4 separate regions of the Homo sapiens genome follow, and all the other regions are linked to region 3. The links are contacts of gene promoters, found by promoter capture Hi-C in blood cells and fetal thymus (Javierre and others, 2016). All regions are on one chromosome and are shown on one strand. The core of a region is centred on a gene start or on the middle of the fragment in contact, and the rest is flanking DNA. Distances in the headings are between cores, read along the strand shown.

What was found. Contacts are between HindIII fragments. The CHiCAGO score rates a contact against its expected background, and 5 or more counts as called.
Region 1: a fragment that was not itself captured here is called in contact with the fragment with the promoter of MED4 in region 3 in 1 of 17 cell types (megakaryocytes); the score reaches 5.6 in megakaryocytes.
Region 2: a fragment that was not itself captured here is called in contact with the fragment with the promoter of MED4 in region 3 in 1 of 17 cell types (megakaryocytes); the score reaches 5.5 in megakaryocytes.
Region 4: a fragment that was not itself captured here is called in contact with the fragment with the promoter of MED4 in region 3 in 1 of 17 cell types (megakaryocytes); the score reaches 5.7 in megakaryocytes.

The regions. Positions count from the first base shown.
Region 1 is chr13:46,825,022-46,830,019 of GRCh38, reverse strand. No RefSeq gene overlaps it. Among named protein-coding and RNA genes, the nearest start is that of HTR2A-AS1, 25 kb to the left of the region's middle. The HindIII fragment of the contact is 600 bases long and covers 3,094-3,693 here.
Region 2 is chr13:46,805,963-46,810,987 of GRCh38, reverse strand. No RefSeq gene overlaps it. Among named protein-coding and RNA genes, the nearest start is that of ESD, 11 kb to the right of the region's middle. The HindIII fragment of the contact is 189 bases long and covers 1,660-1,848 here.
Region 3 is chr13:48,091,678-48,096,801 of GRCh38, reverse strand. It overlaps MED4 (mediator complex subunit 4), which reads left to right and starts at 1,698. Exons shown (of 7, transcript NM_014166.4): 1 at 1,698-1,848. The coding sequence starts at 1,724. RefSeq lists a silencer at 2,195-2,489. The HindIII fragment of the contact is 8,460 bases long and covers 1-5,124 here.
Region 4 is chr13:46,763,708-46,768,460 of GRCh38, reverse strand. No RefSeq gene overlaps it. Among named protein-coding and RNA genes, the nearest start is that of ESD, 31 kb to the left of the region's middle. The HindIII fragment of the contact is 1,084 bases long and covers 1,604-2,687 here.

The DNA.
Region 1 (4,998 bases), core at 2,144-4,643, 1.3 Mb after region 3:
ACTAAGAACATTAATGATGCATTTGTCCCAGCAAATATGCAATGAGACAAGACTTCTTTGTGAATTTCTGATTATTTTGGCATGCGGCTTGCTAAAACAAAATTTTTAAAAATTTTTTCCTTAATGGTTTACACACCAGTCTTAACTCTTTCTTTTTTTTTTTTTTTCTTTTGAGGTGGAGTCCTGCTGTATCACCCAGGCTGGAGTGCAATGGTGTGATCTCAGCTCACTGTGACCTCCGCCTCCCAGGGTTCAAGCAATTCTCCTGCCTCAGCCTCCTTAGTAGCAGGGATTACAGGTGCGCACCACCACGCCTGGCTAATTTTTTGTATTTTTAGTAGAGGTGGGGTTTCACCATGTTGGTCAGGCTGGTCTTGAACTCCTGACCTTGTGATCCCCTCGCCTCGGCCTCCCAAAGTGCTGGGATTACAGGCGTGAGCCACCATGCCCGGCCCAACTCTGACCTTCTTTTTTGATATTAACACCAGTATGTCCATCTGAGCCAGCGTTTTATGGGAAGTCTTCATACCCAATTGGAACCTTTTTTCATGTGGCCCAGTCACAGCAGAAGACAGACAGGAAACCGAGGTCCAGCCTGCTGCTGTTGTCTGACCTTGGACGAATCTGAGTTTTTCCTCCTTGAAGCATATAATAAGGGACTTAGGGTCAATTATCTCAGCAAGGAGTCTCTTCTATGTCTATGCTTATCTGAACACTAGAGAGTCCAGACAAGGCCTTGTTGAACCAAGGCACTGCTTCAGGTGCCAAGGATAATCTGGAATGCAGAACCCTCATGTTTTCTTAAATTCTCTAGATGGATTTCAAATAAATGACAACTTTATCTTTTATATGGGATGAGATAAATCAAATTGCTAAGTATCTAAGAAGTTTCTAAGATATGAGCCCAGGAGGCAAATATCAACATAAATGTTTGTACATTGGCATTTTCCTCACAGTTGGGCTCTCTTCTGCAGTTTCATAGCTACTACAATATTTTGGATTGGCCTTTTTAATAACCCTCAGGCTTCCTGAAGAACAAGTGCTCCTACTATTTGAGTTCAATTTCCCTGAAGGGTTAAAATTAAAAAGCCCAGATAGATTTAGAATTCATGGCGCAGAGAAGATCTCTTTTTTAAAAGCTAGATTTACATTGACAGTATGCCAAGGTCACTTAAGTTTTCATTTATAATTGAGATTATGAGACCTTAAAAAAGTATTTATTCTGTCTTCTAGAAAAACAGCACAATTTGTACTTCCTGTCCTACACTTATTTCAGATATTGAAAAGTAATATGCCATTATTCAGATAATCTTGTCTTAGTTAGGGTGACCCTAAGAGCAGAGTTAAGACTCAGGTGCAGGTTATTTATGCAGGAGATGCTCTGAGGGAGCCAACAGCATTAGAGAGGGAAGAAGTAAAAGTTTATTTAACTGTGTGTTCAGTGTGTGACATAAGCAAAAACTATACTCAAATTGGGTTGAGCAACTAGTGCTGCAAACTCATTTATTCTCTTAATAGGTTTGCTAGTGAGGGTCTGCTATGTGTATGTTTTATGTAAGACCACTAAGTGTGGGAAGTCTAGGGATGGAATTACTCTTTTAAAAAACTTGAATAAGATACTGGGTGGGGAGATTATTCTACCTCTTTACAAAATGTTTGTTTATTTCATTGAGCCTACCAACTTTGTCACAAATTAGCCTAAGTAATATAGGATAACTTAACACGCCTACCCAGAGATGCCATGCTGCATATGATAAGATATCCCTCAAGGCATTGCCACCACCCGATGCTGATGTTTCAGCCACTTTAGACACTGGTGAAAAGCAAAGTTGTGTGGGCCAATGGCAAAAGTGTTAAGAATATAGAATTTTAAAATTAGTTTTATGAGGAAAAAATGAAAATTAGATAGAATGTTCAATATCACTATCTCCAGGCTCCATTGTTAAAGTTCTGCATTCTAAGACCTAGGATCACAATGGGGTGTATAAAGAAGAATATCTAAAAGATGGGAATTAGTCAACATAGATAAGCAATCCAAGAAGAATTTTTAAGAAGACGAAAAAGGAAATGAAAAAAATAAACAATAGTAAATATAAAAACAAATGTGTTCAGCATGTACACATGTAATGATGTATCTCTCTGATACTCTGAAAAGGGGATACATTTATTAGTCTTTAATTTCTAGAGACAAGATGGTGGGGTTTTTTCCAAATTAGCAGAAAAATAGGAAATGTTATTCACAAGTGATTACAAGTATGACAAAATTAAAACAACTAAACATTTCCAAGACTGAAGAACAAGAAGATTGATTTGCATGAAAATGTAACACTACATTTATTCCTCTAATATAATCACCAGAGAACTTGACTATGATTAATTATTCCTACACTTCTCTAAAATAGAATGTGGAAGCTATGACACACTTTTTGTCCAGCTCCTCTCCACCAGATAGACCTAAGTCTGAAAACCTATTGGAACCACTCATAAAGAAAAAAAATCTTCTCTAACTTAGAATTATTATCACTGTCATGATGCAAATATCAACTTACTTCAATCTATATGAAGCATAATAAATAAAATATTGAAACTATTAGTACATTTATATAACATTCTGCTTTGAGAAATTTGCTTTAATAACTTTGAAAGACAAAATAACTATTTCTGCCTTAAATGAGCATATTTTTTATTTGACTTAAATACCAGCTTCTTTTGCTAATAGCTTTGAGTGGTCCTACTTGGTTCTAAGAATTTGAGCAAAGTACAGCTAGCCACTTGTAGTAGGCAATAATGTATATATAAAGCATAAACCAGCAATGTTTTCACATTTTTTGAAACAGCGAGATTAAATCCAGAAACATCCAACCTATTTCTCTTACTACAACAAGGAAACCAGAAGGAATGTCAAAGGAAGACACTGAAGTTGATACTTATTGAGCAACAATTTTGTGCTAATTTCACACATTTAATCACAATAATGTGTCTATGTCTCATAGTAACCATAGAGGAAACTGAGTCTCAAAGGTAAATTTGACCAATTCCACCAAGCTAAGGAGAAGAATCGGAACTCAAGCATGACTATATAAATGATAAGCTTTTACTGTTTCTAATTTCCACTGTGCTAAAGATCAGAAAATATTTTCTATAAGGAGCCAAATAGTACATGTTTTAGGTTCTGTTGTGGTGTGAAAACAGCCATAGACAATAAGCAAATGAGTGAATGTGACTATGTTCCAATAAAACTTTATTTACAAAAACAAACTCTGGGTCAGATTTGAGCCTGGACTATATAGTTAGCTAATCCCTGGACACTACCATCCAACAACAGCAACAATAATTACCACAAACACAACAACCACAACAACATATACTACTACACTACTACTACCATCACATCTATTTATTTGAGCCCTTAGTAAATGTCAAGTATTATGTTAGATATTTTAATATATCCTTACAATACCAGCACTATACAGTGGATATTATCATCATCTCCATGTTCTATATAAGGAAACTAGAGATTAACCTATCCAAGCTCACACATAGTAAGTAATAGAGCTGGGTTTTGAATCAACATCTCTATTCTCAGCCACTTGCTCTATTTCCTCCCTAACCCAAAAGAATGAAAGCATATCTCTATCATGCTTGCATTATACCTGTGACTGTCTTGCCTTAGTTAGAATGAAGAGTGAAGCTTAGCAGAGCTCTAGCTTTGGGAAGGAAATAGTTCCTTCTAAAGCCTTCAACTTACAATGCAGGGTAAATTAGACTTTGCTGAATAAACACAATTTCAACCCATAAGTATAAGTGTTGATAAGTGGTGATCAGCAACATGGTTAATTCTCTAAAGGAAATTCTTGATTTGGTAAGATAGAATCATAACATATTGATTGCTGTCTTTTCTCTTAGCTCACCTTCATGCACAGAGAATGTATGTAACATTAACTTCCTCCTAAATGTAAGGAAGAATGCATAAACTCTATGTCCTTTATATTTGTAGAAGTATGTTCAAAAATAAATTTCTTACATGCCCTTTCTACTTCCTATGCTAATCAATAAAATAATAAATATTGACTGGAAAAATTACTATTTAAAATAAATGTTATAGATATTAATACAAATCAGGGAGATTGAAAAATCTCCAAGTTTCTTCGGAGAACATGGATCTTATTGTCAGAATACACACAGAAATGAGAAAACAGGAATCATTGTTTTGAATCGATGTCAAATAGGCCTCACAGAAGCTCAGAGACACATAACCCACCCCAGACCAAATCAAAGGCTACCGGAGGGATGCAGGCACAAGTTCCTCCATTTTCATCAAAGGCCTGAATCATCCATAGGACCCAGCTACTCTCTCTCAACCTGTTTCACTCTGGGTCTCTTTCACTCATCTTCCCTCTACCAGCTGGTTTCCATTTGGTTTCTTCTTACATATAGCATGTGCTCACTTACAGTCCACCATGACCTCTCTACCTCATGGACTTTCATCTTCTACAGCTGCCACTAATTATATGAACTTCTCTATACTGACTTGTGTAGATTTCTAAGAGAGAGCTGGTTAGGTTGGTCCATGTTCTCCCTACATGGGCAGAGACTTTGTTCTAAGCTCCCCTTATAGTCTACTGACCAGATATGGCCAGATGCCTTTCCCAATCCAATCAGCTGTGGTGGGCTATGCAGAATATTCCCCCAGCTGAATCTCTTGACAGAAGAAGAGTTTTCACACAGAGGGCTAGAGTGTATCCATCACTGGGTCTGAATGCTAATCATACCTTATCTGAAAAGAGAGAAAATCTATTGACTTACTCTTCTGGCAAGGGTAGCCACCTCTTTTAACCAGCACTCCCTTTTCCTACTTTACATTTTTTCCTTCTAATACAGTTATTTCCAATTTCCTATCCACAGGTTGACACTTTAAAGAATATAACCAGAAGTGAGTCAGCCAATTTTCTTTTATAGGGTTATCGGCAAAATAGTTGTTGCAAAACACACACACAC
Region 2 (5,025 bases), core at 505-3,004, 1.3 Mb after region 3:
ATAGCCAAGCATGGCAGTGCACACCAGTAGTCCCAGCTACTCAGTAGGCTGAGGTGGGAGAATCACCTGAGCCTGGAAAATTGAGGCTACAGTGAGCCGTGATCATGCCATTGCACTCCAGCCTAGGCAACTGGAATAAGACACTGTCACAAAAAAACAAACAAACAAACAAAAACTTCCCTGGAGTAAAAACCAATTAAATATAAAATGCTCTAAGCTCTGAATTTCCTAAGAAATAGGCGATACTACGATATTGGGACTTTAAAGGGAGACAAGTTGTTATGGAAATGTGAACCGTTAAAGACTTTATTAACAGAAAAAAATTATTATGAGTCATCTGATGGAGACATGACCAACAGTGAACTAGACTGATATTTCTCAGAGTACATTCCAGACTACATGAATCTTTCAGAATGTCCAAAGACAAAAAAAGAAACTATAACCCCCTAATGGGAGTTGCATACTGTAAACTAGCACCTTGAAGACTCGGACTCGGTGACATCTTTTGTTCAACCTACCATTCCCACATTTAATCACAGAAACATAAATCTAAATAATATCCTACGGAATTGGAGTTTCTCAATGTCACTCTGAGAAATGTGGGACCAGATTTATAAAGAAAGCCCATTTACTAGCCAAGTTTGATAACAAGATAAAATTTAAAATCAGATATAAATTGTTTTGTGAGCTGTAACTTCACCCAAGTGTATTCCTCAAATATACAAGCCTATGAAACTCCAGAAAATTGGCAGTTTTGCAAGAATTGTCCTTTCTATACCAGTCAGTTCAAATATAATGATAATGTTGCTACTATTCCCTTCCCATTTCCAATAAATTTAAAATAATCTTGGCACTATTTCCCATTTCTTCCATTCCAAATCAGGTTCTGGTTTATAAACATCTCTCCTCTTTTTCTCATGTTACTATCTCTGCTAAGTCATTTTACTCAGTCTTTTAAACTCTGTTCTTTCTTCCCCTTATTGATTTCAATGAAAGCACTGTTAGAGCTGGCTCTTTTTTTTTTTTTTTTTTTTTTGAGACGGTGTCTCGCTCTGTCGCCCAGGCCGGAGTGCAGTGGCGCGAGTTCGGCTCACCGCAAGCTCCGCCTCCCGGGTTCACGCCATTCTCCTGCCTCAGCCTACCGAGTAGCTGGGACGACAGGCGCCCGCCACCGCGCCCGGCTAATTTTTTTGTATTTTTAGTAGATGCGGGGTTTCACCGTGTTAGCCAGGATGGTCTCCATCTCCTGACCTCGTGATCCACCTGCCTCGGCCTCCCAAAGTGCTGGGATTACAGGCGTGAGCCACCGTGCCTGGCCAGATCTGGCTGTTTAACCATGTCTCTTATTCACAGTATAATGCTTCTAGAGGGTTTCTGCAACATTGCTGACTTCCAGGTTATATGGATTACTTTAGTAGGAGGTAGACTGGAAAAAGTCAGAATTTAATAATTATTGAGACATCTTGGCTGTGTCTTCTCAAGTACAACTGAACTAGTGTGGGCTAAAAGCAGCTGACATTCACAAACAGTAATCAGGTTCCATTTTGTGGGACAAATATTGCTTTTTTGCAAGCTTCGTTCTGCTCCAAGAAATTAGGCTTATCTAGTATTTGAGCTGGAGCCAGATCACTTGGGTTCATAGCAATCTAAACTTAAGCTTTATTTCTAGCTGTACCAGTGCCTTGACTAAGGTCATGTATCTCCTTGTGAATCAGTTTATACTCTGTAAAGACAAAATTAACTTTATGCAAAGATATTTGATGATGTTAACTGAGTTAATATATATAAAAAAGATTTGTTTTACTGAGAAATAATAGTATTTTCCCATGCTTTTAGAAAAAGTAAGCTTGGACTGTGGTTCACACCTGTAATCGTAGCACTTTGGGAGGCCAAGGCAGGAGGATCACTTGAATCCAGGAGTTCAAGACCAGCCCTGCCAACACAGCAAGACCCCATCTCTACAAAAAAAAGAAAAAAGAAAAAAAAAAACTAGCCAGGCATGGTGGCAATGCCTGTAGTCCCAGCTACATAAGAGGCTGAGATGGGAGGATCACTTGAGCCCAGGAGGTCAAGGTTGCAGTGAGGTGTGGTTGCACCACTGCACTCCAGCCTAGTTAACAGTGAGACCCTGTCTCAAAAGAAAAGAAAAAAAGAAAAAGTAAGCCCTATGAAAGCAGAGACTTTGATTTGTCTATTTCTGTATTTCCAGTATCTAGAAAAGTACCTTGCGTATGGTAAGCAATCAATGACTACTTGTGGGTGAAAGAATAAATTAATGGATAATAGTATAACTAGAGATCCAGAGATATAACAAACAAATTTACTTTGCCCAGTGACATAAAATAAAGCCATATTCTTGCACCTAATTTTTTATATTTTTAAAATTAATTCCTTGTTGTTTTCATTAGTTGTGACTAGGGGAAAGTATTAATTTGTTCAGTCTAGAATGCTTTGATAACAAAAATAATGTATAGGATCAGTATCTTCATCATGATTATTATTGATGAAGAGTATTATTATTATTGGCGGTATGGAATGGCAGTTAAGCACACAAACTCAGGATTTCAACTGATGGAAGCAAATCCCAGCTCTGCCATTTACTAGCAGACAGTTCTCAAAAGAAGACATTTATGCAGCCAACAAACATGTGAAAAAAAGCTCATCTTCACTGGTCATTAGAGAAATGCGAATCAAACCCACAATGAGATACTATCTCACTCCAGTTAGAATGGAGATCATTAAAAAGTCAGGAAACAACAAATGCTGGAGAGGATGTGGATAAATAGGAACACTTTTACACTGTTGGTGGGAGTGTAAATTAGTTCAACCATTGTGGAAGACAGTGTGGCGATTCCTCAAGGATCTAGAACCAGAAACACCATTTGACCCAGCAATCCCATTACTGGGTATATACCCAAAGGATTATAAATCATTCTACTATAAAGACACATGCACACGTATGTTTATTGCAGCACTGTTCACAATAGCAAAGACTTGGAACCAACCCCAGTGCCCATCAGTGATAGACTGGATAAAGAAAATGTGGCACATATACACCATGGAATACTATGAAGCCATAAAAAGAGATGAGTTCATGTCCTTTGCAGGGACACGGATGAAGCTGGAAACCATCATTCTCAGCTAACTAGCACAGGAACAGAAAACCAAAAACCACATGTTCTCACTCATAAGTGAGAGTTGAACAATGAGAACACATGGACACAGGGAGGGGAACATCACACACCGGTGCCTGTCAGGGGCTGGGGGCTAGGGGAGGGATAGCATTAAGAGAAATACCTAATGTAGATGACGGGTTGATGGGTGCAGCAAACCACCATGACACTTGTATACCTATGTAACAAACCTGCATGTTCTGCCCATGTATTGCAGAACTTAAAATATAATTTAAAAAAAAGAAATAAAAGAAAAAGAAAGCGGGTCTTGCTATGTTGCCCAAGATAGACTCCATCCTCCCGTGTCAGCCTTCAGAGTAGCTAGGACTATAGAAGTGCACCACTATCCCCAGCTATTGAGAAAGTATTTTTGAGTTTAGTGAGTGAAAGTCAGAACTGATTTTACATAGTTCATAAAATATTTGTAGAAGGGATACAAAATTAAATCAGTAGCAAAATAAATGTATATGTAACTATGAAATGTAAATTCTATTTACCCATGATATTTGGAAATTGGAGCAGCCTCCCACGTCACATTTCCAAACTAACACATAAAAACAAAAATAAAAAAATAAGATCTCAAATACAATAATGTTTCAAAAATAATCAGAGGCATAGATTATCTCAAGGTGTCAACCTAGAGTTGCTAGATCTGTCATATTTTATCAATGTAAAATGTTAAAATGTGCAAAAACTCTTCTCTAGTTAGCTGTGCTATAAAATAAGCCATTAGATGTTTTATTAAACATAGTTTATAAAAACAAAAGTAGATTAAACCTAAAATAAGCTTTTGATTACTCCTAGACTCCTTTGTCAAGCACAAAAAGTAAATAGCAAAATAACTCACACTTGAATTTTTAAACTGCTTCTAGGTCATACACAAAAACCACTACATATTCAGCGTAGCCCTTAAATCACCTGTATTACAAATTAAAGACATAACTTTTATCAATTAATTTATAATTTGACCCTCCTACTCCATCTTCTAAAAATGATTGAAGGACAATTAATTGCAGTAAGAGCCAAACATATCCCCAGAAAGAGAGAAATGAGAAGTAAAAGAGGAGAAAAGAAAACCTTTATTTAAACATTGTAATTAAAGTAAATACTGGAATGCTACAGTAATGGGTAAAACTTTATTCTGAGCATCCTAAAAACCAGGACAAAGAATGAAGTACAACACATAGTTCTAACTGATGGACAGAAGTATGCTCATTTATCAGAAAACAAACTTTTATCTAGACTGTTAGTGCTAAAAGAAATACTTATAGGAGACTTTGTAACCAGTCACTGAACTACTTTATAAATATTATGTACAGCTATTTCAAATGTTACATTTTTTAAATCTTAACTGTCTATATAAGAAAATAACGCCATAGCGTCATTCTGTACATGCAACTCTACTGAAGGCAGGGAGATAATGGAAGGTAGTGAAGTCTAGGTGTAGAATTTTCTATTATCTTTAACATATTGTGCACATCAAAGATAATGCGTTCATCAAAATATCCCATTAGAGAATTATAACTAGAGTTAAAGACTTCTTTGTGATTTCTGAGTTCCTATTGGGACTTTGTAGCAAAATGTGCTTCAGGTTTCCCACCATGAAATGTGAAGCGAGCCAGGCGCAGTGGCTCACGCCTGTAATCCCAGCACTTTGGGAGGCCGAGGTGGGTGGATCACCTGAGGTCAGGAGTTCAAGACCAGCCTGGCTAACATGGTGAAACCCCATCTCTACTAAAAATACAAAAATCAGTTGGGTGTGGTGGCGAGTGCCTGTAATTCCAGCTACTTGGGAGGCTGAGGCAGGAGAATCGCTTGAACCCAGGAGGCAGAGGTTGCAGTGAGCCAAGAT
Region 3 (5,124 bases), core at 449-2,948:
GGTGACAAGGATCTCTTGCACTGTCTAGAGGAAAAGGTACCCTGACCTATGAACACAAATAATCCAATCTCTTGAACACAAATATCCCTACACTGTGGAGACACAAAGCCTCATGATTGTGTCATTAATTTTTAATCTATCCTTGTTTGTTCTGATCCAAGTTTAACAAGCAACATCCTGTGATAATATGGCTTCTCATATAGTTTTGTCTATGGGAAAAAGATATGTTTGGCACTATTACTTTTCATCGTAAGTGAGTAAATCAGCATTCTAGATTACGCAGCAGTTGCTATGAGTGAATTTATTTAACATGAATTTCTAAAAGACTTGTCAACTCTGGGTGCCCAGGAGTCAGGTTTAGCACCTCCAAAAAGACAGAGTAGAGGATGAGACCCTGAAATGAAAGGACTACAGGTACTACTACCTCATGGGAGTGAGGCAGTCCCAGACCATCTTTTATAATAGCAATATGGAATCCTCATTCCCAATAGGCTTGTAACTTTGCTTTTTTCTGGTAGAGAGTGATCCCTACTACATTGTTATCCCTAGGAAAAGTAGGCTAAGACGTATTTTTGCCTTTGACAACCAGTTCTGGTTTGGAATGTGTGGTACATCAATGACTTAAACTATGTTAATTAACTACTACTTATGTACTGTATTGGTTCCTTCAGTTCAATAATTAACCTGAGTAATGAGCAAAACATTTTGTTGGAAGATGTATGGCTATAAAGATGGATTATAGCAATGTGGAAGTAACCTAACTGTCCATCGTCAGATGAATGGATGAACAAAAGGTGCCATATGCATACAATGGAATATTAGTCTTAAAAAGGAAAGATATTCCAGCACATGCTACATCATGGATGAACCTGGAGGACATAATGCTGAGTGACATAAGCCAGACACAAAAAGACAAATACTGTATGATTCTGCTTATATGAGGTACCTAGAGTAGCCAAACTTACAGCAATGGAAAGTAGAATGGTGGTTGCCAGGGCCTGGAGAAGGGAGGGATAAGGAGTTAGCATTTAGTGAGTACAGAGTTTGTTTTACAAGATAAAAGGTTTTGGAGATGGATAGTTGCTCAACAGTATGAATGTATTTAATGCCACTGAACTATCCACTTAAAAATGGTTAAGGTGGGCCGGGTGCGGTGGCTCACGCCTGTAATTCCACCACTTTGGGAGGCTGAGGCAGGCGGATCACGAGGTCAGGAGATTGAGACCATCCTGGCTAACAAGGTGAAACCCCGTCTCTACTAAAAATACAAAAAATTAGCCGGGCGTGGTGGCGGTCGCCTGTAGTCCCAGCTACTCGGGAGGCTGAGGCAGGAAAAATGGCGTGAACCCAGGAGGCGGAACTTGCAGTGAGCCAAGACATCCGCGGCGATGCACTCCAGTCTGGGCAACAGAGCGAGACTCGTCTCAAAAAAAAAAAAAGAAAGAAAGAAAGAAAAAAAACCATTAGGCCCAGGAGAATCAGACTGCGTTGCCCCCACTGTTCTCAGTTCAGCTGTCGCTCCCAGGGTTTGGACCAGAAAGCCCTCGCCGGCCCAACAGATGGCGCCGGTGTCCGCAGTGCGCCTCCAGGCCCAAAGGGGGCGCTCTCGCCAGGCCTCTTTTTCCTCTCCTGGGTGACTCTTCCGCCTTCCGAGCCCGCCTTCTCGCCACGCACCTGCGTCAGCTCGCTCTGCGCGTGCGCCGGTGGCGGGACTCTGGGGAAAATGGCTGCGTCTTCGAGTGGTGAGAAGGAGAAGGAGCGGCTGGGAGGCGGTTTGGGAGTGGCGGGTGGTAACAGCACACGAGAGCGGCTGCTGTCTGCGCTTGAGGACTTGGAGGTCCTGTCTAGGTAATGCGGCGAGCCTGAGAGCCGGGCTGGAGCTGGGCCGGGGGACTGACCCCGGAGCCGGCCGGCCCTGCGTTTGTGCTCGTTCTCGGGGTTCGGCGGGGAGGGCCAGCTCGGGAGTTTCGGGTGCATGAGGGTCATGGACGTGGGGTCCGCAGCCCTCTGGCACTCTGGGCGGCGGTTTTTCCCGTTAGAGGGAATTTTAGTAATGATAAGAACTCGCGCGGTCTGAGCCTCTTCGTCCGCGGCCAGCCACTTAACATTTATGGAACGCTCCTTGGGGGCTCAGCATTGGGGAGACGGTAGTGAAGGGTAGACTGGATGCCAGCTGTCGAGAGAGAGACAGATGTGTAAACTGGCTTGGGGCCTGTTTTTATTAGAGGGCTGCGCTGCGGGGTACTGGAGCACAGGGACTAGGCACCTTTTTTGGTTGTAGTCAGGGCAGGCCCTCTGAAGAAAGTGCTGCTTGGGAAGCATGAGCTCGCCAAACTCACTAGGCAGCACAGATAGATGGAACAGCAAGTGCAAAAAGCCTGGCTTGGTGGAGTTGCAAGTTGTTTAGGATGGTTGTGTGTCAGAGATAGGAGATGAAATTAGATGTCGTTCTTCATATTCTGTCACCTTTCATGATAAGTCTTTCAAGTTGAAGCCTTCCTTGACTCCCTCCCATTGACTTGGATGGTAAATTATCTTGGTTCTACCTCCTAAAGTGTCGCTCCAATTTGCCCTCTCGTTCCAACCCCGCTGTTCATAACTCCTTCTTAAATGTAGCCTCCCAAACAGTTTTAATTGCCTCATGCTTCTGCACTTTATCCTTTTATATTGGCCGATACCAGTTTTAAAAGGCATCTTATATCACTTTTCTGCAGAAAAATTATATAAAAGCTACCTCATTGGTAGGTTTGCGTTGTCCAGTGAGGTAAAGTTCAAATTCTTTAGTCAGACTTCCACATCTTCAGTGCCATTCCCAGTCTACTCCCGATTTGGTGAATGATTCATATATCCTTCAGAATCCAGCTCAAATGTCACTTTTTCTATAGCCAACATTCTTTGACAGCTTTAGAATAAATCTTACCTGTTGTATTTTAAAATATACGTGATATAATCAGCACTTTATTTTTGGTGTAAATTTAGTCCTTGCCATCGTATTGCTACCAAGTTACCAGGTCAGCACAATATTTAATGATGGAAGAAAACCCGAAAACACCTAGACAGCAGAAATTAAATGGCTTATGTGTTTGATCCACTGTTTAAAATAAACTGTATTAGGGCCGGGTGTGGTGGCTCACGCCTATAATCCGAGCACTTTGGGAGGCCAAGGCGGGCGGATCATTGGAACTTCTTCACAGAATGAAGCTGCTCTGGTGGTGTGACTGGCTTCCAGAAAGGTCTCATGTGTTCACTCAGAGGTAGTTATGTGTACTGATTCTGTGATCTGTGAAGTTTGTCAGTCTCTGAATGTAATTTGTGTCTGGCTTGCATTTATGAAAATGAGAAGAAAAATCACGAATATACCTTACATATTTTTAGATTTAGCCTCTTTAAAAATAGTGGATTTATAACTTAGGATCTTTTTTTTTCTATTAACCTGATTATATAGCCTTTCGGGATATTTATTAGTTTATAAAATGTAATGCAAGGAGATAGTCTTAAAAAGTTGAAACACAGGTTGTAGGCTAAACGTTTTTTTTAACCCATTTGTAACTCAAAACTCATTGTTCCACAGAACCATGTTGATAGGAATCTTGAGTTTTCCACACCAGCCTGTTAATTCTGTTTACCTGAAAAGTGTATTACTGCTAATAATGTAGGCTCTAACCGCTATGGAAATTTTATTTCTATGGGGAATTGTGTCTGGATTCTAATGCAGTATGCTGGGAATGCACCTTCTTTTTAGCAGGACAGGGCTCTTGAGTGTGGGGGCTTCCTTTGGCCTCTTTTTCGCAGTTGGGGAGGACAGGGGTTTCTATTTTGTCCTGGACTGTTACAGAACATGACTAAGTCTTAGAGACTTCTACCTCCCCTCTACTCCGGCGCCTAAGGCAAGCCTTGTAAAGCCTTCTGTGGACTCACGCTCCCAGATTTGCAAGAACAGAGGAAGGCTTATCCCACATCTCCTACCATAGCCCCACTCTAGTCAGCACCACTCCTGCCCCACCTGAAACCAGCTTTTACTTAGACCAGAGGTTCTCAACCGTCTATGTCTCACTTGTGGCGTACACTAAAAAGTTTACTTAACATGCTGTTTTCATACGCTGTTGATCCATCAGCAAGTCCTGTTAGCTCTACCTCCAAAAGATATCTGAAATCTGTCCATGTTTCTCCCATCACGATTACTAAGTCCTGGAGGCTATAACCTCGTCAAAACCAGTGTCATTTTTTGCCTGGAACACTACAGAAACCACCTAACTTACTTCCTGTTCTGGCCCTCTTACAGTCTATTTACCAGATCACTCAACAGTTTTTAAAAGTATAAATCAGGTCATGCCATTTCCCTGTTTAAAATAACCCAGTGGCTTCTCATTGCATTTAGAATGAAACACTAGGCCGGGCGCAGTGGCTCATGCCTGTAATCCCAGCACTTTGGGAGGCCGAGGCCGGCGGATCACCTGTGGTCGGGATTTCGAGACCAGCCTGACCAACAGGGAGAAACCCCATCTGTACTAAAAAAAAAATACAAAATTAGCCGGGCGTGGTGGCACATGCCTGTAATCCCAGCTGCTAGGGAGGCTGAGGCAGGAGAATTCTTTGAACCCGGGAGGTGGAGGTTGGGGTGAGCCGAGATCGCGCCATTGCACTCCAGCCTGGGCAACAAGAGCAAAACTCCATCTCAAAAAATAAAAAATAAAAAAAGAATGAAACACTAATCTTTACCATAACTATAAGGCCCTACGTAATCTCACCCCTAGCCACCTGGCTGCTACATCCTCACTTTGCTTTCCTCTCCCCATTGTGCCAGGCCCTGGCTACACCTCCTCAGCTCCATCTTTGGGGCACTGAACTGTCTGTGTCTTCTACTGTGCTCTTTCCTTCCAGACATCTTGGCTGACTTCTCTCATTTAATCCGTGTCTTATGTCAAAGCTGTGCCCTTAGGAAGACCTTCTCTGACCACCCTATTGAAGTAGCCAACCCACTCCCCCAGTAGTCTCTAATAAAACATTGCTTTATTTCCTTCCCAACCCTTATCACTCTAGGTTTATTTCTTCTCTTAGTTCTTCTTGTCTCTTGTATTAGAATTTAAGTGCCATTGTTCACTTTGATACCCCAAGTATCTAGAA
Region 4 (4,753 bases), core at 896-3,395, 1.3 Mb after region 3:
AGAAATAACCTGAATCCATCTATAACAGAATTAGTAAAATTGGAGCATATTCATACAATGAAATATTCTACATGAATAAAAATAAACACACTATAACTGGATGCAGCAACATGGATGGGGTCTCAATCATAATCTGGAAGAAAGAATCCTGACACCAAATTATGTGCTATATAATAACTTGGTACCATTTTATATGCATAGTATTGAAGACAGGAGGTGTTACACATAGCAAGGCAATGGAAGGGGGTGGTGGGGGGCATTCTGAGGGAGAGGTGATTGGAGCATGGCAGGAGAGAGTACTGGTGATGCTATCTTCATCCAGGTGCTTGGTACATGAGCATGTTCACTGAAAATTCATCAGGCCATACACTTAGGATTTATAAACTTTTTAATATGTGTTATACTTTAATAAGGTTTACATTAAAAGTATATTAAGTAGTTATGCTGTGAAGATCATAAATATACTACTGCATGAAGAATTTAAAAATCCTGATGTTATTGCAAAGAATACTTATCTTGGGGGATACAATTTCCAGTGGCTACATCGTTTATCAATTCAAGTAATATTGTATCTCAAACCACTTAGAAGTGAAGGTGATGTGAAAAGTTGCTGCAAAAAGTGGCTGTAGGCCAGGCGTGGTGGCTCACATCTGTTATCCCAGCACTTTGGCAGGCCGAGGTGGGTGGACCACTTGAGGTCAGGAGTTTGAGACCAGCCTGGCCAACATGGCAAAACCCCATCTCTACTAAAAATGCAAAAATTAGCCAGGTGTGGTGGCAGGTGCCTTTAATCCCAGCTACTCAGGAGACTGAGGCAGGAGAATCGTTGGAACCTGGGAGGCAGAGGTTGCAGTGAGCTGAGATTGCACCACCGCACTCCAGCAACGGACTGAGACTCTATCTGCCCCCTCCCCCAGAAAAAAATGGCTGTAGTGATGTTACTGATATTGACGATGCAAATGAGTTTAGATAAAACCATGTCATAAAATCTTACAACAGAATATTTAATATTTCCAAGCTGACATATCTCAAGTATTTTTAAAGTATACATATAAAATCTGTGACAAGTAGGCATGAATTATATATTTAAAAATGTATAAATGTATTCGAATTAGCCAAAGTTTTGGATGTTATCATTAGAAAAATGCAGATCCAGGCCAGGCGCAGTGGCTCACACCTGTAATCCCAGCACTTTGGGAGGCTGAGGCAGGTGGATCACAAGGTCAGGAGTTTGAGACCAGCCTGGCCAACGTGGTGAAACCCCATCTCTACTAAAAATACAAAAATTAGCCTGGCATCATGGCGTGCACCTGTTATCCCAACCACTCAGGAGGCTGAGGCAGAAGAATCGCTTGAACCCGGGAGGCAGAGGTTGCAGTGAGCCAAGATCGTGCCACTGCACTCCAGCCTAGGTGACAGAGCGAGACTCCATCTCAAAAAATAAAAAAAAAGAAAAAGAAAAATGCAGATCCTCTCATGTTCAAGGTTGTCTTGTATTTAGGCACACTGGGTATATACAGTATGTAACAGATTACATTGTTTTATCGACCTTCTGCAATGAAAGCCACTTTAAAATTAAAACAGCCAGATTTTTTTTTAAGCTTTCATTTTTGAAGCCTAGCCTCCAAGTAATCTGAAGAATTGGGGTTTCGGATGAAGAAAGGAAATGTCACTGTTGGTGTTCCAGTGATGGGGATGGCAACAGCAGTAGCTAAGAAGACATTGGCAGAGGTTGCCGGGGGGGTGGTGGGGGGAAGTAAAGATGCAGCGATGGCCACAGCAGCACAGGGGACCATGACAAAAGAGGCATCCACTACAGTCGAAATGGAGGACAAAGTGTTAGAACCAGTAAGAGTTTCGTAAAGTGGCTAGAAACAATATAACTGTCTCAAAATTAGTGATTTTTCTATAAGTCTATGTTTAATAAAAATTATTTTAAAATGATCCTATTCACAGCAGCAACAAAAAACTACCTAGAAAGAACTCAAACCAGAATTGTATAATACCTCTAGCAAATAAAGTAAGTCTTAAATGGAAAGCAATATCATATTCATGGAATAAAACTCTCAATATTGTAAAGCTACAAACATACCCCAGATTAATCTACAAATGCAATATAATCTTAATCAAAATCTCAAAGTTGTTCATGGAGCTTGACAAGCTAATTATAAAATTTATATGGAAGAATATGCCAAGACGGCTTGAGAGAGAACAAATTGCTCTGCCAGTTGTCAAGACATTATAAAGCTGTGATAATTAAAACGGGTTTGGACTCAGAAGAGTTCATCCCATCAGAAAAGTCCTGCCACAGACCCACACAGAAATTTAGCGTATGTTAATAGCAATGTCTCAAATCAGTGAGGAAAACATGAGCCTTTCTGTAAATGGTGCTGCCAAATTATTTTTCAGTAGCTTTGTGGAGAAAGATATACAAAAGGAGGCCTGTGTAAAGGCATGCATTGCAGCCTTGTTTGTAATAAATACGAAAACAACCCCAAATATTTAAGAATCAAAGTAAGTTGGTGAAAAATTTGACACTGTTTACATTTTCACAAGCCATCAAAACAATATGTATTTTGCTATAGGTACAAATATATTTCATGGGAAAAGTTCTGAATGGAAATAATGAGTTACTTCTGGGAAAGAGGAGGAGGGCACCAGAGTTGAAAATAACAGCCAGAAAAGCTTTATTTTTGGTGGATTATATCATTTTTACAGAAAAAGTTATTCATGTATATTTTCAGTTGTAAAATACTAATTTTAAACACTAATAAATGTTGAAAATCAGAAAGAACAGTGCTTACACTCATCTGTGCCAAGGTCCAGAAACACATTTTCATGCTTCTTACTTTGTATTTCTGAGAACTTAAGTTCTGGTTCAAAAACACATTGGAATTAAAAAAAAAAAATAGAATTAACATAGCTGACTGTGTGAATAATGAGACTTTCAGGAGAAGAAACCCTTGTAAGGTCCTGCCTCCCAAAGGTACTTCAGGCCAGTCATTGCATCTTTCAAAGGCCAATTCCTCACTGGAAAGCAGAGTAAATAAACAAAAACCCCTACACTAACTCCCAGGGCTGTGTAGCAAGACAAGATACCCACATGAAATCTCTGTCATCTTATCCAGATGTTAGTGACTAGATGCATTAGGGCCATTGAACTTCAAAGTGACCCGTGCCGTCCTTCAGGGGTGCACAAGACCATCCAATGGACAGGATTAGAGCTTCTGTCTATATTTATTTTTATTTCATCATCTCCTGTTAAAATTTCTATTTTTGTGCATGCCTTATAATATACATAGCATATTGGTATGCTAATGTATACAATTATAAATTAAAAGTCATATAGTATGGGTGTGTGTGGCAAATGTGCCTCCCAAATTTCTTTTTAAGCTTACTTTTTAAACCACAACTTTTTAAGTGAGAGGAGACAACATTGTGAGCACCAACACACAGATTATCTATTGCGCTATTAGTTTCTACTCTGCCAGTACAAAGAATGGTTGGCTATAGAAATAAAATATTTTCCTCGAAGAGAGAACATAGTTTGTAAATTTCTCATCCTTTCATAGCCCTGCTAGTCCAAGAGAAAATGTCTTTTGCTTATCAGATATATATTTTTTTATTTGTTGTTGTATTTGGCCCAACTCTGGGATTCCAATCCATGACCAGTGAATTTTCGATTTCATTTGTGTCTCTTTGGCACCAGGTGGCAGCTTCTGTCTCTAACGACACTTAATGAGCTTCACTTTCTGGTGATAGTACATAAAGAAAATAGAGTTCTAGCACTTTCTTTGTTGGATGATAATAGTATACTCAACCAAATAAAGTAACATTTTCATCTTATTGGGCTTATTAGAAAAATTCAAATACCCCTAAAAATGAGGCATGGAGCTGGGAAGTGGGTGAGGCAAGGGACTTTTTTTTTTCCAATTTATCCTAGATATTATTTTGGGCATTCTGGTTTTGGGGTGTATTATTTTGTGTGTGTGTGTGTGTGTGTGTGTGTGTGTGTGTGTGTGTGTGTGTGTGTGTGCATTTAAACCCTGCATTTAGAGTTGTAATATTGACCCCAGGCTGTTCACGTGGTTGATTGAAGGCAGATTGCCTTATTAGTCATTGCTGGTTCAATGGGATTAATATTCCTTAAAGAGGAAAGCCTTTTCCTTTTGGGTCTCTTCTGAAAACATTTGAGTAAAAACACTGCCACCCAGTGTTTCTTTTAGGAGAAGCACAATAAATATACCGTGCACTCTTAAAAAGTTTTCTAGGATGAATAGCAAATCACCCATTTTCTTAGTTATATTCAAATAAGACCTGACAGACGACAGAACATGCCCTGCTTTAAATGTAAAATAGGCCGGGCTCAGTGGCTCACAACTGCAATCCCAGCACTTTGGGAGGCTAAGGTAGGAGGGTTGCTTAAACAGGAGTTTGAGACCAGCCTGGGTAACCATGAGACACTGTCTCTACAAAAAATAGAAGAAAAAAAAAATTAGCTGGGTATGGTCGTGTGTGCCTATAGTCCCAGCTGCCTAGGAGGTTGAGGTGGGAGGATTGCTTGAGCCCAGGAGATCAAGGCTGCAGTGAGCCATGACTGCACAACTGCACTCCAGCCTGGGTAACAAAAAAAGACCCTGTCTCAAAAATAAAAATAAAATATTCCAGCCCATATCATGCTACGTAATGCAGAGAGGCTATCCCAGATGTTGGAATGATTGTTTGATTTTCAAGCATGAATTCTAAGACGATC